Regions from separate parts of the Homo sapiens genome. Here all the other regions are linked to region 2. The links are contacts of gene promoters, found by promoter capture Hi-C in blood cells and fetal thymus (Javierre and others, 2016). All regions are on one chromosome and are shown on one strand. The core of a region is centred on a gene start or on the middle of the fragment in contact, and the rest is flanking DNA. Distances in the headings are between cores, read along the strand shown.

What was found. The method cuts DNA at HindIII sites, captures the fragments that hold promoters and counts their contacts. A CHiCAGO score of 5 or more calls a contact.
Region 1: a fragment that was not itself captured here is called in contact with the fragment with the promoter of H2BC12 in region 2 in 3 of 17 cell types (M0 macrophages, M2 macrophages and M1 macrophages); the score reaches 7.8 in M0 macrophages.
Region 3: a contact is called between the fragment with the promoter of BTN2A1 here and the fragment with the promoter of H2BC12 in region 2, in 11 of 17 cell types (M0 macrophages, naive CD4 T cells, activated CD4 T cells and 8 more). The highest score is 14.8, in M0 macrophages.
Region 4: a contact is called between a fragment that was not itself captured here and the fragment with the promoter of H2BC12 in region 2, in 16 of 17 cell types (total CD8 T cells, naive CD4 T cells, non-activated CD4 T cells and 13 more). The highest score is 25.4, in total CD8 T cells.
Region 5: the fragment with the promoter of HMGN4 here is called in contact with the fragment with the promoter of H2BC12 in region 2 in 15 of 17 cell types (M1 macrophages, M2 macrophages, naive CD8 T cells and 12 more); the score reaches 14.3 in M1 macrophages.
Region 6: a contact is called between the fragment with the promoter of HCG11 here and the fragment with the promoter of H2BC12 in region 2, in 11 of 17 cell types (M0 macrophages, activated CD4 T cells, naive CD4 T cells and 8 more). The highest score is 11.8, in M0 macrophages.
Region 7: the fragment with the promoter of OR2B2 here is called in contact with the fragment with the promoter of H2BC12 in region 2 in 14 of 17 cell types (neutrophils, monocytes, naive CD8 T cells and 11 more); the score reaches 16.3 in neutrophils.

What each region holds. Positions count from the first base shown.
Region 1 is chr6:26,583,404-26,586,228 of GRCh38, reverse strand. No RefSeq gene overlaps it. Among named protein-coding and RNA genes, the nearest start is that of TRY-GTA3-1, 7.7 kb to the right of the region's middle. The HindIII fragment of the contact is 1,543 bases long and covers 618-2,160 here.
Region 2 is chr6:27,145,315-27,148,290 of GRCh38, reverse strand. H2BC12 (H2B clustered histone 12) reads left to right here and starts at 1,436. Exons shown (of 1, transcript NM_001312653.2): 1 at 1,436-1,930. The coding sequence starts at 1,493. The coding sequence ends at 1,873. H2AC12 (H2A clustered histone 12) reads right to left here and starts at 1,185. Exons shown (of 1, transcript NM_080596.3): 1 at 729-1,185. The coding sequence starts at 1,162. The coding sequence ends at 776. MIR3143 (microRNA 3143) reads right to left here and starts at 665; the gene lies at 603-665. RefSeq lists enhancers at 799-1,048, 1,379-1,838, 1,093-2,009, 2,429-2,538. The HindIII fragment of the contact is 2,078 bases long and covers 546-2,623 here.
Region 3 is chr6:26,456,461-26,459,493 of GRCh38, reverse strand. BTN2A1 (butyrophilin subfamily 2 member A1) reads right to left here and starts at 1,539. Exons shown (of 8, transcript NM_007049.5): 1 at 1,352-1,539; 2 at 776-887; 3 at 1-13. The coding sequence starts at 857. RefSeq lists enhancers at 1,349-1,508, 1,669-1,928. The HindIII fragment of the contact is 11,033 bases long and covers 1-3,033 here.
Region 4 is chr6:27,888,877-27,891,816 of GRCh38, reverse strand. H3C12 (H3 clustered histone 12) reads left to right here and starts at 991. Exons shown (of 1, transcript NM_003535.3): 1 at 991-1,502. The coding sequence starts at 1,025. The coding sequence ends at 1,435. RefSeq lists enhancers at 1,019-1,238, 755-1,399, 1,459-1,758, 1,400-2,044, 2,045-2,689. The HindIII fragment of the contact is 398 bases long and covers 1,476-1,873 here.
Region 5 is chr6:26,537,035-26,539,786 of GRCh38, reverse strand. HMGN4 (high mobility group nucleosomal binding domain 4) reads right to left here and starts at 1,421. Exons shown (of 2, transcript NM_006353.3): 1 at 1,286-1,421. It overlaps TRR-ACG1-2 (tRNA-Arg (anticodon ACG) 1-2), which reads right to left and starts at 2,289; the gene lies at 2,217-2,289. It overlaps TRV-CAC1-6 (tRNA-Val (anticodon CAC) 1-6), which reads right to left and starts at 1,733; the gene lies at 1,661-1,733. RefSeq lists enhancers at 801-1,210, 2,471-2,752 and silencers at 1,701-1,750, 2,144-2,437. The HindIII fragment of the contact is 7,010 bases long and covers 1-2,752 here.
Region 6 is chr6:26,520,208-26,522,975 of GRCh38, reverse strand. It overlaps HCG11 (HLA complex group 11), which reads right to left and starts at 1,270. Exons shown (of 1, transcript NR_026790.1): 1 at 1-1,270. TRL-CAG1-7 (tRNA-Leu (anticodon CAG) 1-7) reads right to left here and starts at 1,768; the gene lies at 1,686-1,768. It overlaps LOC107986583 (a long non-coding RNA gene), which reads left to right. Exons shown (of 4, transcript XR_001744057.3): 1 at 1-1,467. RefSeq lists silencers at 815-1,334, 1,565-2,164. The HindIII fragment of the contact is 10,867 bases long and covers 115-2,768 here.
Region 7 is chr6:27,910,749-27,913,781 of GRCh38, reverse strand. It overlaps OR2B2 (olfactory receptor family 2 subfamily B member 2), which reads left to right and starts at 1,386. Exons shown (of 1, transcript NM_033057.2): 1 at 1,386-2,597. The coding sequence starts at 1,463. The coding sequence ends at 2,536. The HindIII fragment of the contact is 2,345 bases long and covers 82-2,426 here.

The DNA.
Region 1 (2,825 bases), core at 140-2,639, 560 kb after region 2:
GGTCATATGGTCATTCTGATCCACAGTCTTCTAGTAACGTAGCATGTGCAGATTGTAGTTCTTACTTCCTCAGAAATAGATGTGGACATATGACACATTTGTTCTGGAAAATGAGGTGTCCCTTCCAGATGTTTGAGAGTCAGTGAGCAATCTATCGGGTCCCTTTTTACCTTACCTTGACAAAATAATTGATTATTTTGATTGTAGAGGATCTACAAATCAGGGTTTATTAGTGAAATAGAGACCACCAACCAAATCATGATAGATTTTTATGACACAGAAATAGGAGTTTATGGTTATAAGCCAGTATGATTTGGCGTGGGGGAGAGGAATTACTTATTATTGCAGCATAAGCTAATGTATCCAGATGGATACATCCAGGAAATTCAGAAGTATGAATTCATTAAGAAGACCAGATTCCTTTCTAGGTAAATATCCAACAAAATTGTGTGAACTTGAGCACTAAGAGGTATGCTAAAAGTGTTCATAGAAAACAGGTTTTTAAATATACATATATATTTTAATATATTAATATCAACATATCCCAAGAAAAAGCTTAGTGAAGTATTGCCAGTGGTCTACGTACAGCCTAATATCACTTTATATTATGATAAGCTTAGGAAAATGTCTAAAGTTTCTTTGGTTCTTTGTGGTAGAATTCTAGAACATTTAAATGTATTGAGCTAAAAGTAGTAAAAATCTCAAAATTAGAATGAACACAGATCTAAGATTGGGATTTTAAAATACTATGGCAGTTTTTCAAGCCTGGAAAGTTCAGTCATTAGGATTACAGCAAAAATAATTATTAGACACAAGAGGCATTTCACCTGCTCTGTCTCTTGGCCCCATATGCAGCCATAGTGACTGTCCTTTTTCTCCTTTTCTCCCTTGCCACAGCACCCACAATTCAGATTGCTTTCCTTTTTCCCTCATAACTTCTACCAACCATTTGCTTCTTTGGGGACAGATCTTCCCTAAGACAAATAGAAAATTGTAGCATGAATCATAAAATCTTAGCCTCTTAAATCCTTGCTGCACCTGAAAATTACCATGCGAGATCATTTCTTAATGTTGAGTTTTATGCCTAATTATTATTAGTAAATAGACTGAGCATCACATTCAATGGAAAGTTACATGACTATCTTATATATGCATGCTGTATCTGGTCTAAAGTTTCTATTTTCATGGCTAAAATAGCTACAAGGAACCTGATCATTGTCTTATCTTCTACTTTTATTCCCAATGGCAGGTAGGGCTTCCTAATACTCCTAACTCCTTCTAATCCAGCAGTAGTTCTTCAACATCAGTGTTCCTTTTGTACAACACTGGTTTCAGTTCTAGGAACATCTCAGGCTCTCTAAGATATCTGAGCCTTTTTTAAACTGTTTATTCTCCCAGGAATGACCTGGAAAATGTATTGACCACTGACCAACTTTTATTTTATTATTATTATTACTATTATTATTACTTTGTGTGTGTACGTGAGATGGAGTTTCGCTCTTTTGCCCAGGCTGGAGTGAAGTGGTGTGATCTTGGCTCACTGCAACCTCCACCTCGCGGGTTCAAGTGATTCTCCTGCCTCAGCCTCCCTAGTAGCTGGGATTACAGGCATGTGCTACCACGCCCGACTAATTTTTGTATTTTTAGTAGAGACGGGGTTTCAGCATGTTGGCTAGGCTAGTCTTGAACTCCTGACCTCAAGTGATCCACCTGCCTCAGAAACTGCTAAGATTACAGGCATGAGCCACGGCACCTGGCCACTGACCAACTTTGAAGACCAAGGATCAAGGATCAACTCCACATTGAAGATGTTGGAGCCTCACCATATTACCTCTGGCATCCCACCAAGAAGCCCCCCCCATATCCCCCTGACCTTCACCATGTCAATGTCCACCAGGCTGATTTCTACCTGCCGGTACTTGCATCTTATCGCATGAGAGCTTTCCCCACCTGCTGATCACACTTTGCCCACATTCATGGCAGGCCAGATGTTCCACTGAATTGGAGGTTTAGAATAGCTCCCAAGCAATTTTTGGTAAATGGTGTATGACTATCCCAGCTCCCTTACCCTTGAAGTTTGATCATTTTTAGGCATATTTTCAACATTGTTTCCCAGAGTTCCTCCTCTGAGGATTAAGAGGGGTTAAGAAGGATTAAGCTTGAATAGCCCAGAGTGGTATTCCTTGGTTTCTTTTCTTTTCTTTTTCACTTTGTTTTTTCCACACCAGTGTTTTCTGGATTAAACCACTTGCCCCTAAATCCTTGAATAAACCACCCCACCCCACCCCACCCCAGAAAAAAAACAGTAGGTTTTTGAAAGGTCATCCAATATGCTGTGGAAGAATAGGTAAGTAGTCAGGGGCAGAAGCAGGAAGGCAAGATTGATTCAGGCGAAAATTACGATGTCTCCAAAAGGAGTTGTGGCAGTAAGAGTGGTGAGATGCTGTAAGATCATGGATATGTAGTGAAGATAGAAGCAACAGAATCACCCAATAAATTGATGCGGAATGCGACACAAAGAAGAATCAGGCTGACTCCCAGGTATCTGACCAGAGAACTGTGAAGGATGGAATGGAGTGAGGGTGACTGTGGGTGCGACAGATTTGGGAGGGAATGAGATAAGGAGTCCAGTTTTGATGATTATTAGCTTCTAAGTGGAGATGATGAGTAGGTAGGAATACTGCAGTAGGATCAGTCTGCAGTTTGCGGGAGAGTCTGGGCTGGAGATATAATAATGTGAATTATCTGCACAGAAACAGGTTTAAGTTCATGACTCTGGATGAGACTCTGAAAGAATTGGGTGTAAATAGATAACAGAAGAGGAC
Region 2 (2,976 bases), core at 187-2,686:
TGGGTAAAGTTACTCTTAAGAGTTAGACCACTTAAGAATCAGGCTGCCCTTTCTTGCTTTTCAAGAATACTTAGAATTGCAAAATTTGCCTTTAAAGAATGGCAAGTATATCCCATTTTTATGGCTGTTTGACAACACTATTAATGTAATAGAATTATTACACTGGAGGCCGGGCGCTGTGGCTCACGCCTGTAATCCCAGCACTTTGGGAGGCCGAGGCGGGCGGATCACCTGAGGTCAGGAGTTCGAGACCAGCCTGGCCACCATGGTGGAACCCCGTCTCCACTAAAAATACAAAAAAACTAGCCGGTCGTGGTGGTGTGTGCCTGTAATCCCAGCTATTCGGGAGGCCGAGACAGGAGAATCGCTTGAACCTGGGAGGTGGAGGTTGCAGTGAGCCGAGATCGCGCCGCGCCACTGCACTCCAGCCTGTTGGAGACTCCATCTCAAAAAAAAAAAAAAAAAAAAAAAAACCACTGGAATTAGTAAATAGATTTCAGGGATTTGTACGTTTGATTTCACTTATTACCCCTGCTGAATAAGCTTCTCCGGAGTATCCTACAACAACTTTTGGGTCTTCATTGCTTTCCAGTGGGTTAATTTAGAAACATTGTAAAGAGTTGCTCCAGCCCAACCGCGAAAGAAGCGCTTTACAATGTTATCTAGCGAAGCAAACATGAAGTGAAACAAACATGACTGTGTCCAGCTTTCTCTAAGACAGTGTAGAATGGCTCTGAAAAGAGCCTTTGTTTTCCAGTTTTCACAACCTCGCTCCTTATTTGGCCTTATGGTGGCTCTCAGTCTTCTTAGGCAGCAGCACGGCCTGGATATTGGGCAAGACACCACCCTGCGCGATGGTGACTTTGCCCAGCAGCTTGTTGAGCTCCTCGTCGTTGCGGATGGCCAGTTGGAGGTGACGCGGGATGATACGGGTCTTCTTGTTGTCGCGGGCCGCATTGCCAGCCAGCTCCAGGATCTCAGCGGTCAGGTACTCCAGCACCGCAGCCAGGTACACTGGCGCGCCGGCTCCAACCCGCTCGGCATAATTACCCTTGCGGAGCAGGCGGTGCACTCGGCCCACGGGGAACTGAAGCCCAGCCCGAGAAGAGCGGGTCTTGGCCTTGGCGCGAGCTTTACCGCCTTGCTTGCCACGTCCAGACATACTGGTCACAACTTACTGAAAGTAGCCAACGAGGAAAGGCAGCGCCTTTTATAAACACTATTGGGCGCGAAAAAGAAGATATGTCATTGGTTAGGGTTGTAGCTTAGTTTTAACCAATGGAAGTACGTCTTTTGGATTTGCAGATTGGGTTGATTGGGTATAACTAACCTCTGACGTCACCCTAATAACCACCAATCAGATACAGGACTTTCACTCTTCACCTTATTTGCATGAGAGGTCCTATATAAAAACGACTCCTGGTACCTTGCTCCCATTACTTCCCGTTTTCTCGATCTGCTGCTCGTCTCAGGCTCGTAGTTCGCCTTCAACATGCCGGAACCAGCGAAGTCCGCTCCCGCGCCCAAGAAGGGCTCGAAGAAAGCCGTGACTAAGGCGCAGAAGAAGGACGGCAAGAAGCGCAAGCGCAGCCGCAAGGAGAGCTACTCCGTATACGTGTACAAGGTGCTGAAGCAGGTCCACCCCGACACCGGCATCTCCTCTAAGGCCATGGGAATCATGAACTCCTTCGTCAACGACATCTTCGAACGCATCGCGGGTGAGGCTTCCCGCCTGGCGCATTACAACAAGCGCTCGACCATCACCTCCAGGGAGATCCAGACGGCCGTGCGCCTGCTGCTGCCCGGGGAGTTGGCCAAGCACGCCGTGTCCGAGGGCACCAAGGCCGTCACCAAGTACACCAGCGCTAAGTAAACTTGCCAAGTAAGCGTCTTAAAGCCCAACCCCAAAGGCTCTTTTAAGAGCCACTTAAATTATCGATATTAGAGCTGTAAACACGTGTTCCTAATCCAGGCTTAAATTCGGGCGATCTTTTTAAAGGGATTATCATGATCTTATCACACTGAGTAATGCATGCAGTGCTTGTAATCGAGTCTGGCTAAGGAGAAGCCACATACACTTTGTTAGTACTGAGTGAGGAATATGGCGCCTAAAAAATTAGGGATGTGCAGGAAACTTGTGTTAACAGAAAGTGCTTCCTGGCTCTTGGCGCGAAAATGGATACTTCCGTTGTGTCGAGTGCTGTGACTTCCTGTTAGAACTTGTTGAAAGCCTATTGTGTCACGTGTACTTTCCACCATGTAATGGCGTTCTAACGTGAGTTTATATATTAGTAAATTTGGTTCCCGATGGCGTTCCAGTACGTATGGCTTTCGCTCGAGCAGTTACCTTATTTAACCTCTTCTAGGCTGTACCCAGCTCTGCCTTGCTTTGCTTCCCCCTCACCCCCTGATTCCATCTCTGCAGCCCACGGGACATCGGGAAGATGCCAGACCACCAGGCAGGATAGTCTGCAAGGGTAAGGGGAGGAGCACAGCTTTTCTCAGGAGTGAAGAAACGGAACATGAAATCATCACGGAGATTTTTGGAATAGTTTACTAGTTTTTAAGGCATGTTCAGCGTCAATTGGTCCAATCAGTAATTTTTCCTTTTGACAAGAAAGCTTATAGAAAAGGAAAATGAAAAGCAAGTAGATTCAGAGGGGAGACAACAGACAGACTAGAGACAGTCCGCCCCGAAGCAAGAAGTTGGAGTAGAGGAGAAGGGAACTTCCCCAGCAGCACAGGGTTTGAGCTAAGTGTTAGGTGGTGGGTTAGAATTAGGTGGTGGGTTTTATTGTGTGATTAGAGGCTAGAATGACTATGCCGGTGATGAGCAGTGTGAAACTTTTTTGGAAGAACCAAGTGAAAGAAAGAGTCCACGAATTTTAAGCTAGGTTGTTACCTGGCTAAATTTGTGATTTAGAAATGTAGGCCAGTTTCACAGGGGAATTTTGTGTGTGTGTGTGTGTGTGTGTG
Region 3 (3,033 bases), core at 290-2,789, 690 kb after region 2:
ACAATAAACTGGGCTGTTCAACAAAGGGGTAGAGTCAGACAAAGACACCAGCCATCACATCTCTAAGGCAAGAAAGGAAGCAGATATTCTAGGGACAAACTTATTTTTTCCATGGCCATAGGGTCTCTTTGGGCTGAGAAATCTGGGGACCAGTAGCTGTGGCTAGTCGACAGCACCCCTGGGAGCAGTAACTATAAAGTGTGCTTCTGCTTCATGAAGGAAACCCTGAGGAACCTGCCCTGAGCACCCTCTGTCCACCCTGTGCCCTTGAGGGGATTTTCCTCGATTTCCCAATCTAGTGCTGTGCCTGAGTGTACTGTAAACTTGAGCCGTGCAATAGGACACATATCCACTAGCTAGTTCCAACTGAAATGAGCTGTAAGTGTAAAATACACACAGGATTATGAAGATTTAAAATTTCAAAATGTTGACTATCTCATTGGTAATATGGTATATTAACTAAGTATTTAAATATTCGTATTTGATTATTTGGGGCGAAACAAAATATAGTATACAAATTTATTTCATGTTTCTTTTTACTTTTTAAAATAAAAAGTAAAATTTAATTTTTTTTGAAAATTTGCAATTGTACATGCACTCGGCCTTTGTGCCTCACTGTATTCCTTTTGGACAGTGCTGGTATAAATTCAATGAACATGTTCAGAATGAAAGGGTAAGTCAACAACTCCACAGTCCTTCTTTCTTTCCCTTTGCAGACTACAGGGTTGATGTTCCTTTCTGATAGGTGACAGCAGCAAGTGGCACACATCCCTACCTGAGACCAGTGCACACAGGCTGAGGAGGAGGAGGAGGAGGGAGGCTGGCCGGGAGAAGTGCAGGGCAGCAGCTGATTCCATGAGCACCCAGAGCAGGCAGGGACAGGAGGCCTAGGGTTACAGAGGAGAATCAGCCTAGGAGTCTTGGCACCTCAGTGCTGGTCGGGCCCAACCTCTCCCGTCACTCAAGTAGGTCTCATCAGTGCCCCAACTTCAGGGAGTCCCCTGCATCCGAAGGCTCAGGTATGTCCCGAGAGAGGGATTCCTTAAACATTCCATGAAGTAAGCCATCAATGCCAAGATCAAGGGGGCCTTTTTCCGCCCTCCTCGGCTCACTTCTCTGGCCAGAATGCAGTTTCTTCAGTTGTCGCTGGATTCTACCACACCCTCCTCCCTTCACTTCCTCCTCCCCGCGACCCAGGCCGGGCAGCCTGAGGCAAAGACAGGCGAGGCCGCGCCTCCCCACCGGTGGGCTTTCCCTGTCCCAGGACCCCGTCTCGTGTCCACAGCAGACCCCGCTTCCCCCACCTACTGTGCCCACCCCGGAGCTGTAGCGCCTCCCCTCCGTTTCCTACCTTCTAGAATTAAACGTTGCTTTTTCTTTTCTCCGCTGGTTCTCGACGATTCTCCAGTCGTCCCTCTTCTCTCCAATCTGCCCAGGGGCACAGGCACTACTAGACACAAACCTTCCCAAAAGAGGAGAAAAAATTGTTCTTCCCCTTCTCCTAGGTCGCCATGTTTGGAGATGCAGGAAACGAAATCTGGTCTCCTGGGCTTCCACAGTCCCAAGAGTTCCCTAAGTATTTTAGAGCCCAGGATTGGCCGGGTGTGAGTGAACCAGCCAATGGTGTCGAACCTTATTTCTCAGCAGTTGCTGGGTAGAATACACCGAATCACAAATTTCAAGCAGCAAATAACCTTTTGAGATTATCGGGTCTTTTTATTTCCTTTTTCTTTGTTCGAAAGCAAGACTCTCTCTCTCTCTCTTTCTCTCTCAAGACTCTCTCTCTCTCTCTCGCTTTGAGATTCCTTGGGGAGATTCCCTGGGGTTTGTCACTGAGGTCGGTGGCTTTGCTGGTGTCCACAAGGAGAGGCCTCTCTATGTAGAGGGCAATTTTGCTGGGGAGGAAACATGAGCAGGAAAACGTAAGCCGCCCCCTTTCCAAAGCCAGAGGACTCCTGTTCAAGTTGCTGGCTTTGGAGGTTGGGCCTGGAGCGCAGGAGGGCTTGGGGGAAGCTGGCATGGCTGGAGCGGGAGGGGTAGCAAAGGAAAGGAGACAGCAGTTGCAGTGGCTGTTATGAAGGCCTTGCCATTCATTCCAAAGCTATCGGATAAGAGGTGCTGAGAATCCTGACTGAGGATCAAAAACCTTTTCCCTCAGGGAGGTGGCATTCTGGTGGTGGCAGAAGATGGAATTGAGCAAAACTTTCTAGTTGTCCTTCACCTTCTAGATAGTAGGTGGTCAGGTTGGGTCCAAGAGCCACACACAGACACACACACTAGCACACATACCATCCTCCCGTAAACATCATCCCTCTCCCAAAGGCTCCAATCTTGTAATTGTAAAGATATCTTCCAGAATAATCTTCCCGAGGCCCAGTTGTCAATATTCCCCTCAAGTGTCTAAATGCTTAGTCTGGAGGCCTCCAATTCCCTTCTGATTCAATTCAAAACTTTGCAGTTAATACGCTAGCAATGGCTCCACAGTGGCCTTGCATCACAACGTTGCACTCCCTGTGGCCAGTGCTCCTTTTCCCATGCCATGGCTTTCATTTCAATTGCTTGCTCCATCTCTGCCCCGTGAAATCCTGCCCAGCCTTCGTGCCTACTTCCTCCAAGAACAACTCTGAATGTTCCTGCCTGAAGTGTTCTCGGCCTCTTCTGACACCCAAATCTTTTGCTGTTCCCACGTCCTGTCTTGTATTATTGTTACTCAGGTATCCACTGTGTCTCTGCTGTGACAGGAGTACCTGCTTCTCAGGACAGACTTCTGCAGGATGTGATTCCTCTCACCTTACAGGGCCCAGCTCTAAGCTCTAAGCTCTGCTCTTAGCTGTTGTTCAATGCATGAGTGACATGCTCAGGGTAAGGTCATTCCCACCACATCATGGCCCAGTTCCTGGAGTCATTTGGCACCAGAGTGCGAGAGAGAGGTGCTAGCAGGATTAAGCCACTCTAGGTCAGGATTTCTAGGACTGGAAAGGAGGAACCAGTAGGTTCCTTCTGCAGAGAAAGCTCTTTGATGAGAATAAGCTA
Region 4 (2,940 bases), core at 425-2,924, 740 kb before region 2:
ACCAGAACCTGGTAGTTCTTTGATCAACTAAAATCTCCATCCTAATAAAATGCTGTTGTCAGAACTACCCAGATTCACTGGCAAAAATCTAATCACTGACCCAAACCTGTAATTCCGCGCATGCTAATGAAATTAAGCAATAATTTACATAATTAATCCAATCAGCCATTGGATTGCATTAAACTCAGTTAATGAAGAGGTCAGATACCATTTATTGGTATCATTTAGTCAAGCACCTATCAAACTCCTTCCCCACACCACACTGGACAAAACTAAAGTTTTGGTGTTTTAGAGAATGTGCCAGCCTAAGTTTAAATTGTTTTTGTTCTGGGTCTTGGTACAGTCATTAAAAGATTTAATTAAGCAGTTACAAAACGGAACTACTTTTTGGAAATACTAGCAAATACGTTGTTCTACTGTATGTATTTTTACACGATCCGAAATAGGAAAAATGACCCATTGGAAATGAGTTTAAGACTACGACTGACCTACACAAATTCTAGGTCAGATTATCTTTTCATTGGGGGAATCTTAACATGATTGGTTGAAAACAATAAATAAAAGTGGCGCGGAGGACGAGCGCAGTGGCTCACGCCTGTAATCTAAGCACTTTGGAAGTCCGAGGCAGGCGGATAACTTGAGATCAGGAGTTTGAGACCAGCCTGGCCAACATGGTGAAACCCCTTCTCTGCTAAAAAAAAATTAGCCGGGCGTCGTGGCAAGTGCCTGTAGTCCCAGCTACTCCGGAGGCTGAGGCAGAATCGCTTGAACCCGGGAGGCGGAGGTTGCAGTGAGCTGAGATCGCGCCACCACACTCCAGCCTAGGCGACAGAATTAGAAGCCGTCAGGTAAAAAAAAAAAAAAAAAAAAAAAAGTGGCAGGAACCAAATGAAGATAGTATTAACAACCAACCAGGTTTTTCCTACAACAGTTCTGACCAATCAGGATCAGATCATCGTTATAAATTCTGGTAGAAGCCACTGCTCATTCAGCTGCTTGCTTTCAGAGCATAGCTTTCTCAACTATGGCCCGGACGAAGCAGACAGCTCGCAAGTCTACCGGCGGCAAGGCACCGCGGAAGCAGCTGGCCACCAAGGCAGCGCGCAAAAGCGCTCCAGCGACTGGCGGTGTGAAGAAGCCCCACCGCTACAGGCCAGGCACCGTGGCCTTGCGTGAGATCCGCCGTTATCAGAAGTCGACTGAGCTGCTCATCCGCAAACTGCCATTTCAGCGCCTGGTGCGAGAAATCGCGCAGGATTTCAAAACCGACCTTCGTTTCCAGAGCTCGGCGGTGATGGCGCTGCAAGAGGCGTGCGAGGCCTATCTGGTGGGTCTCTTTGAAGACACCAACCTCTGTGCTATTCACGCCAAGCGTGTCACTATTATGCCTAAGGACATCCAGCTTGCGCGTCGTATCCGTGGCGAGCGAGCATAATCCCCTGCTCTATCTTGGGTTTCTTAATTGCTTCCAAGCTTCCAAAGGCTCTTTTCAGAGCCACTTACATTCTCACTGAGGATAGCTGTCACACCATTGGTCGACTGTCTTAAATCAACTTTAAAGCAGGGATAAACTGGCGGAAAGTCGTCAAGGGTTGTTCATTCTGATTCCTTGCAGTGTCCTTTGTCTTCTAAGACGGTCCTTTTCACTTGTCCTCTGTGACCCATCTCACAAGGGTCTCACTTTCTCCGAGGAAAGTCAGCAAATCTATATCCAAGGTCAATCCGCTTCAAGGGGAAAGCCAAAGTCCTTCCTGCACATGCTGTCCTTTGGGGATAGCATCTCCAGAACCCCATAACTAACAATTAGATTACAGGTTAAATGAGATGCCATTTTTAACTGAAACGGGCACTGCCCTTGGGTCCCCTGGAAGCTTGCTGAAAATCACGGACATGAGGCCGGTTGATTTAGCACATAGACACGGGAGACTTCAAAATGAGGACCCACCCACCAATGAGATACAGAAGTTTATATATCACCTTGAGATTATAGAAAGAGTGCAAGCTTGGAACCTGGGAAAACAGATTATAGGAGGGAGAAAGGAAGAGACTTGGCTAGCAAGGGGGGCGGGTCTTGTTATGTAGATGAAAACACATAGCTAGTAGTCCTCAGAAAAAATAGATGGTAAATGTCTCTTGTCAGGGTGGGCGTGGTGGCTCATGCCCTCCACTTTGGGAGGCAGTGGAAGGAGGATTCCCTGAGCCCAGGAGTTTGAGATCAGCCTGGGTAACAGCAAAATCCTGTCTCTACGAAAAACAAATAAAAAGAAAGGTGGGTGTTGCAGCGCACAACTGTAGTTCTAGCTGCTCAGAAGGCTGAGGCAGGAAGATTGCCTGAGCCCACGAGTTCAAGGATGCAGTGAACTATGATTGCACAATTGCACTCCAGCCTGGGTGACAGAGCAAGACAGTCTCTTAAAAAATAAAAATAAAAAAGGATCAGACTCTCAGTTAATCTCTCCTAGATCCAGGAAAGGACTAGAAAGGGAAAGCCTGGCAACAAATGGAAATTTCCCCCACAAAAGACTGATTTGCAGGGCCTCATCGGTCTCCGGGCCCTGAGGCAGCCATTTCAAAATAGGGCAAAGAAATATCTTTTGGGGTAAAATATTTTTATTTCCTTCACTTTACTTTCCTCAAGAGACTGCTTTAAAGGTTAAATGCAGTAATATATTCTAGGGCCTTGGACAGTGCCCCAGAAAACACATTAGGTACACAAAAAATATTTATTGAACCTGATTTTATCTCTGAATCTTAGTTTGGAGTGGCTCTTGTGGGAGACTAAAATATGCCACCCCGAAGTATACTTTGTCATATTTCAAGATGGCTATTCAGAGAAACTGCAGAAATAGGAATAGCTCTGAAAAGCTCTTTTTTGTAAAAGAATTGTATACCTATCAAGGAAATCTACATTAGTAAACAGTGGATGCAAGTACTGGCTTT
Region 5 (2,752 bases), core at 172-2,671, 610 kb after region 2:
GTCTTGTTAAGGGAACCAGCAAGATGACAAAAGAATGGACCTTTCAAGTCAACGTCTACCCAAGCAGCCTGTTTAAGAAAATGATAAAAAGAAAACAGCTCATTAACATTGTCCTTTTCTTTCTTTTCTTTTCTTTTTTTTTTTTTTTTTTTAATTTTGCGGACCCACCAAAGAATGCAGCCCTTCTTTTCTCATGGTCATAAAAATATCACATTCGGTTGGGCGCGGTGGCTCATGCCTGTAATCTCAGCACTTTGGGAGGCCGAGGCGGGCGGATCACTTGAGGTCAGGAGTTTGAGACCAGCCTGGCCAATATGGTGAAACTCCGTCTCCAACTAAAAATACAAAAATTATCCGGGTGTAGTGTTACACACCTGTAGTCCCAGCTGCTCGGGAGCCTGAGGCACAAGAATCGAGGTGGAGGTTGCAGTGAGCGAGATCGCACCATTGCACCCCAGCCTGGACAACAGAGTGAGACTCCGTCTCAAAAACAAACAAACAAAAACAAACACATCACATTCTTATTAGTCATTTGAGGGAACCTGGAGCAATATGATCTGAGAGGCTAGGCTTGGCTAATCCCTAGAAAAAGTAGTAATACATCTAAGAAAGAAATCCCTCTTAGGGAACACCCGAGGCTGCCAGGTGACACAACAAAACTTTCTCATAAAAGCGTTTGATTAATCCGATTAACTTGTAAGCAAGCCATGTGGCAGAGGTAAGAGGCCAAACACCAAGGCACCAGTCCTGATTCTAAACAAGTGCTGGTCCATTTCTTAACTTTGGGATCCATTTTTTCTTTGTGATGGAATAGCAAAAGGTCAAAGTGGAGGAGGACTCAGCCCTTGGGTGTCTCCTCAACGAGGGTTTCTCGAAGGTAAATTGGGGAGGAAGGGAGAGCCCACGGCAGGTCAGTCCAACCTGCCAGTCACCACCTCTTTAAGGCCACAGCCCTGCGGGAGCAATCCTTTCAAATCCCCTTCCTTCCTTCTTTTAGAACGCCCCTAGAACGCCGATTAGGACTTCTCATCCCGGTCGGGCCTGCGGCTCTCTGTGACCCCACCTCTGGATTCAGCTTTTCCCAGGGATTCACACTCGGAGCTCAGGAGAGATGCTGCGATTACTCTGGAGACGGGAAGACAGGCGGGGCTGACGGGGCCCAAGGCCCCTAATCATGACCGGGGCCAGCTGGCAGGAGGGTCCTAAGTATACGGAGGGCGGCGGGACCCCCCCCACCACGCCCCTCATTTTCCGGGGTAGCGCACAAAGTCTGTGAGGCACTTACCCGAGTCTCGTGGCCGTCCGAGGGGCGCGGGAATCCCAGCTGAGGCCCGTGACGCGCCGGAGCCCTAGGCGTGGGCAGGGCCAGCACCAGCCCTAAGACAGAGAAGACGAGCGGAGCCCGGCTCCGCCAGGAACAGGAAGGCGAGGGAAGGTGAGGATGCGCTTCCGGGGCTGCAGGCGGGGAGCCGCCCCGAGTCCAAGCCGGAGAGAGCTGGTTCTCCCCCTGGCGATACGTGTGTGAGCCTCTGAGGCCCGCCCTAAGCACTGCTGCCCCGATCTAGCAAGACAAGAAGACAGGAAATTTATGACAGCCTGAAAAAGTCTTTAAAAGATACACACTGGAAGAATTTCGTAGTAAGATGAGGAAAAAAAAACGTGTTTCCGCCCGGTTTCGAACCGGGGACCTTTCGCGTGTGAGGCGAACGTGATAACCACTACACTACGGAAACCCACTAAGGGCTTATTTTTCAGAGTAAATAGTTCTTCCTGCCTAGTTCCGTGTTTCTTCGTTCCAAGTGCGTGTTTTGCTGATGTGCGCGTGCGTCTCTGTACCGACCTCTCAAACCAGAAAAACCAATGAAAAGCTCAGACCCAGCCCCTCCAGTGTTCAAACTGAAGCCATAGAATTTATTCTACAAATGACTGAATAGGGAAGAACACAATAGAGACTTTAATTTAATCTCTGAACGGTCCTTCGTTCTTCGGCCAAAATGGCCAGGCAAGGCTGGGCACAACTTGGGTAGGGCGAGCGTTTCTCTGGCGTAGTTGGCGTTACCACGTGGTCAGTGGCAGAATGCTCCGCAAAGAAATGATAACCCCATATGTTGTCGGGAGCTGCCCCTCTTGCTTCTGAGTCTTCCAGGCAAATTTATCTTGCAGGAATTTCCTTACTCCTGCGGAGTCAGAAAGTTGTAAAACGACCCTGCTTACACCGAGCCAGCCAGGAGTCGAACCTGGAATCTTCTGATCCGTAGTCAGACGCGTTATCCATTGCGCCACTGGCCCTGCGCGTACCTTAGGGGCGAGGTATTTCATAAGAAACTAGGTTGTACCCGTAATATCTGGGTGAACGCCTGTAAGCCGCGTTTGCCCGCTGGTCCAGGCTCGCAGCGCATGGACTCTCTGGTAGCTACTTCTGCACACGCCCCGTGGCCTTCATTCCTTTCTCGGTCTGTCTCTGCCGGCTGAAAAATGGCGGTGAAAAGCAAGCCCTGCATCCTCTCTGCCCCAATATCACCGCTCCATTAATGCGTTCGTTCATTCAACCAGTATTAGTGTTCAAGGCACTGCAGATAACGGTGAAGAAAACATGAGAGACCCTTGCCCTCAAGATTACATGGCAGTGGCGGAAGCGGATAATAAAGCATTAAATAAACAAAATAATAGTGATAAGCGATTGGAGAAAAATAATAATAAAACAGGGAAAGAGGATAGGAAAGGCCAGCAGTGAAAGTGATGAATGAGGGAT
Region 6 (2,768 bases), core at 21-2,520, 630 kb after region 2:
TTTCTATGAATTGTAACAAAAAGATATTTACAAAATGTGGTTTTACTACCTCTAATTTTAACATATATCAGACACTTCAGAATATCTAAAAAGAATAGACATTTCAAAAAAGCTTAGCATTGTCAACTACATACATAGTAGTGAGGAAGCGAATGCACACAAAACAATGGATAGAATATGAAAATGTCTTCTAAATATGACCAGTCTAGCATAGAACCTTCTTTTTTTCCTTCTCAGGTCTTCGAGCTCCATGTCATCTAACCCACTGAACAAACGTGAACGTATCGCTTCTAGAGGCCGTCTAACAACTCAGTTTCCAAAAGTCAACTCCGGAAGACATGTATTTTCTATGATTTCTTTTAAACAAATGAGAATTTACAAGATGTGTGACTTTCTAACTCTATCATACGTCGGCAACCTCTTTCCATCTAGAAGGGCTAGATGTGACAAATGTTTTCTATTAAAAGGTTGGGGTGGAGTTGAGAGCAGCTTTTTCATATTATATACACAGGCCTTCCGTAAACGGCCTGTGAATCTTCCCAGAGGATGGAGGGCATTTCCAACGGGCCAAACGTGGCCTGTCATTCTACCATTTGTCTCTTCCGACAGCAAGGTCTGGTAGTACGGAGACCAACCGCCCGATCGCCGCTAACCGTTCCACCCGTCGTCGTTCGGGACTTCGCTCACCTCCCAGGCCCGTTAAGGCCTTTGTCCGTTGTCGTTAGGACTAGGTAGGTCTCGCCCAATGGCGACAGAGTGGTCACCCGGGACCCAGATCTGGCGGCTCCGTGGCCTGAAGAGGCGGCCGAGCCTGCCTGCGTCCCTAGGCCGCCTTCCCGGGCCCTCCATGCCCTAACGCCCTCCGCCGCGCGGCGTTCGAGCGGCCGCCATGCTTCCCGGCACGCTACTCCCGCCGCCACCCAAAGGCGCTGCGTCCAGGCTGCTCGGCGGGGGTTTCGTCCAGGCCCGGCAGGCTTGGGCCGGGAGACCCGACGGCCGGCAGGGTCCGGACTGGGAGAGGCCGCCGCCGCCATCAGTCACCGAGGTAGGGTAGGGAAGAGACGTTCGCCACCGCTTCAAGGCCTGGGCCCAGCCAGTGGGCAGCCACAGCAGAGGCCTCCGGTATCTGCAGGGCAGAGGGCGCGGCCTGTCCCGGGGCGCCCCCTAGCTCACCCGCCGACCCGGGGCCGGAGGGCCTGGAGCGCCCTGGAGGAGCGGCCCGCGCTCTGCGTCTCTCCGCGCTCTCTGCCAGACCGGAACTCTTGCAGTGATTTCTTACGGGGAGTAAGGATGAGGTGGGGAATGAGACTGAAGAAATGGAATTAAAAAGATAACTATAACTAAATAAAGAGGAGCCCTGCAGTAATGTAATGAGCCATGAACTGAAGAGTAACATTTATTCAACTCTGCCTGTGAAGGAGGGAGAGGGAAAGACAACTAGAGACAGAGGAGAAACGGAAAAAGGAGGTGAGATTTCAAAACACCGGTAGGTTCTGAAATTATTTTCGGAGTACAGAGTACTTTTTGCTGTCCTTGGAGTGGCTAATAAAAACAAAGAGTGCTTTTATTCCGGAACTCGGAAAATTTATTTTTTAAAAAGAGAGAAGACCATGTCACAAAGAGCAGGTAGGAAAACGTAGCGTAAACTTAAACTCGATTTGTGTCTAAATACTAAAAGTACGAACTGTCAGGAGTGGGATTCGAACCCACGCCTCCAGGGGAGACTGCGACCTGAACGCAGCGCCTTAGACCGCTCGGCCATCCTGACGCGCTTATGCTACATTGTGCTCAGGACTCACTTCTGTCTCTTGTCTAAACGCTATTAGTTCCCCATCCACCAGCCGCCCCCCTACCCCATGTCCCCACCCCCGCCCACCCCCTTGTTGTTCTTTTTCTCAAGATATGGGCATTCCTGGGTTAAAAGGTAAGCCGCCTCTCCGCGAACTGCCTCGGACGGCGCTGCATAGGACCGGTTGTCCGGGCCACAGAGCGGCGTCTCCCGAGTGAACGCCGAGTCACTCCCAGGCTGCGCGGGGAGGGCTGCGGCGGGTGGGGCGGCGGGCGAGGGAGGGCGGGTCGGGGTAGGGGGAGCGGGACGGGGGCGGGGGCGTGGGAGGGGCGGGGCGGGCGTGGGAGGGGCGGGGAGGGGGCGGGGCGGGCGTGAGCCAGCCCAGGGCCGAGTGACTAAGGCGGAAGACGGCGATGGCGCTCTGCTCTCAACTGAATTCTAGTTAAAATAATGGCAATCCTGTTGAACTCAACATTACTAGAATACCTGGCTTAAATTTACACTTAATTCCCAGGAAGTTTTAGGCTTGCTCCAGTTTTTGCTGGAACAAGGTGCTCGCTAATCCTTCTCCTTTGCGTTGTGCTGCAAATCTCCCAGCACGTGGTTACCCTTGGCAGGGCCGGTGGAGGGGACAGGAGCGTGGGAAGCCTGGCTTGTCTTGCCTCTCTGTCGGAGTTTATGGAGGATTTGCGCACTTTTCGGTGTGGATGTTATACTGTAATAAAAACTTTAAAAAGCAAAAGCAAAAACAGCAACAACAAAAATGGGGAGTAGCTTATGTATTTTACTAAACCTGGCGCAGCGGGTACTTGATAGAAGGCCTTGAGCACAACAACTTTTCTAAACATAAACAAAGGTCAGAGGTGACCTACTTCAAATTTTGTTAGCAAGGGTTAGCAGTCAGGATGCCATGGTCGGAATATCACTGACTGGAAGTCAGGGGACCTGAGTACGAATTTCAGACAGAACTAGAACTGGT
Region 7 (3,033 bases), core at 137-2,636, 770 kb before region 2:
GCCACGTTCAAAGCCATCCTGGGCTGCGTTCAAAGCCATCCTGGGCTGCATGCAGCCCGTGGGCCTCAGGTTGGACAAGCTTGATTTAAAGCATCCACCTGCCTGTTAGTCACTGAGTAGCCATCTCGGTTATCAGATCGTCAGAACACAGAGGGGTGAGTACACTAGAATAAGGTGTTTTGAAGAGAAAAAAAGAGAGGGACACCACATTCACATAACATGTATTACAATAAATGGGGGTCTGGAGCTGTTATACTTGCTGCATTTTATTAATTATTGTTCTTAATCTCTTACTGTGCCTAATTTATAAATTAAACGTTATAGTTGTGTATGTATTAAAAAACATAGTATATATAGGGTTTGGTACTACCCACAGTTTCAGGTTTCTATCCACTGGTGGTCTTGGAATGTATCCCCCATGGATAAAGGGGGAACCACTGTATCATCTTCATTTTACAAATGAGAATTGTGGAGATCAAAGGGTTAGAAGCATTCCAATATAATGAATGTAACTAATTAGAGAGGGTAGGGATATGAGACCAGCCTGTCACCTTCAAATATCATATTACTAAGGAATCTATACAAATTCTATGAGCTTCTAGAACGAAAAGGATATGTCTCCTTAAATTGTGTCTGATAACTTACTAGATACTGTCTACATGGCTTTTTTGAGGGAAGGGGAATAATGGGAGGTGGCTTTAACTAATGTTAACTGATTTCTACAATCAGGGAATCTCGCTGGCCTTGAAGAGAAATTAGAATGAATTCAAATGACAGGAAACTGTATCTACATCTACCTCACAGTAGATATCTAGGTAGGAAGAATGAGAAAAATACATTTACAAACAGTAAAATATCAAAGGATACATTATGTGAATTTGGAAACTGAAAATATGGCTTAAGATTTTTGAAATTAGGCTGGGCACAGTGGCTCACGCCTGTAATCCCAGCACTTTGGGAGGCTGAGGTGGGCAGATCACCTGAGGTTGGGGTTTGAGACCAACCTGACCAACGTGGAGAAACCCCATCGCTACTAAAAATACAAAATTAGTCGGGGTGGTGGCACATGCCTGTGATCCCACCTACTGGGGAGGCTGAGGCAGGAGAATTGCTTGAACCTGGGAGGCGGAGGTTGCGGTGAGCCGAGATGGCGCCATTGCACTCCAGCCTGGGCAAAAGAGTGAAACTCTGCCTCAAAAAAAAAAAAAAAAAAAAAAAAAAAGATTCTTGAAATTCGATTCAATTTGCTAATATGCTGTTACAGATATATAAACACTTTTTAAATACTTGGATGGATAAATATTTATATTTTTATCAATACTTTTTTCACATTATTAATTGGATCAGTCTGTAATTTTATGTAAATTGATAGCAAAATGATTATAGCTGACAAAATCAGGAAGTGTGTTGTTAACTTCCTGACTTCTTATATTTCAGAGAACGAAGAGTTGAACCATTTAACATGAATTGGGTAAATAAGAGTGTCCCACAGGAGTTCATTCTGTTAGTTTTCTCAGATCAACCATGGCTAGAGATTCCACCCTTTGTGATGTTTCTGTTTTCCTATATCTTGACAATCTTTGGCAATCTGACAATAATTCTTGTGTCACATGTGGATTTCAAACTCCACACCCCTATGTACTTTTTTCTTAGCAATCTCTCACTCCTGGACCTTTGCTATACCACAAGTACAGTTCCACAAATGCTGGTAAACATATGCAACACCAGGAAAGTAATCAGTTATGGTGGCTGTGTGGCCCAGCTTTTCATTTTCCTGGCCTTGGGTTCCACAGAATGTCTTCTCCTGGCCGTCATGTGCTTTGATAGGTTTGTAGCTATTTGTCGGCCTCTCCATTACTCAATTATCATGCACCAGAGGCTCTGCTTCCAGTTGGCAGCTGCATCCTGGATTAGTGGCTTTAGCAATTCAGTATTACAGTCCACCTGGACACTTAAGATGCCACTGTGTGGTCACAAAGAAGTGGATCACTTCTTCTGTGAAGTCCCTGCTCTGCTCAAGTTGTCCTGTGTTGACACAACAGCAAATGAGGCTGAACTATTCTTCATCAGTGTGCTATTCCTTCTAATACCCGTGACACTCATCCTTATATCGTATGCTTTTATTGTCCAAGCAGTGTTGAGAATCCAGTCTGCTGAAGGTCAACGAAAGGCATTTGGGACATGTGGCTCCCATCTAATTGTGGTGTCACTTTTTTATGGTACAGCTATCTCCATGTACCTGCAACCACCTTCACCCAGCTCCAAAGACCGGGGAAAGATGGTTTCTCTCTTCTGTGGAATCATTGCACCCATGCTGAATCCCCTTATATATACACTTAGGAACAAAGAGGTAAAGGAAGCCTTTAAAAGGTTGGTTGCAAAGAGTCTTCTTAATCAAGAAATAAGAAATATGCAAATGATAAGCTTTGCTAAAGACACAGTGCTTACTTACCTTACTAACTTCTCCGCAAGTTGTCCTATTTTTGTCATTACTATAGAAAACTATTGTAATCTCCCTCAAAGAAAATTTCCTTGACAAAAAGCTATATTTGTTTCTGTTGCCTAAACATTTTCATTGAACAAGCCCCCAGAATTGGCCTTCCAATGCACCAAAAACTGTAATCACAACATTTTCAAGGGTTGTCACACTTTACATCAATGTTTGTACAATTCAGTGTAAACTAGACCTTTCTGATCCAGAAATCATCTCTTCAGTAATACACACACGCACACACACATACATACATACACACACACACATAGAAACAAAGATGTAAAGGGAGCTTTTGAGAGGTTGCTTGCAAGGGTGTTAATAAAAAAAAAAGGAATTCTCAAATTATAGGCCTTTTAAAGACTTCAATTTTACATAGCTTATAATTTAATTCTCTCCAAATTGCTTTATTATTACTATTCTTAGAAAAACTATTATAGTGATCTTCAAATAAAATGTCGACAGAGAACTATATCTGTTTTCTACTGCCTAAATATATTCATTGCACAAGTCTTAAGAACTGATCTTTTATGAACTCTCAA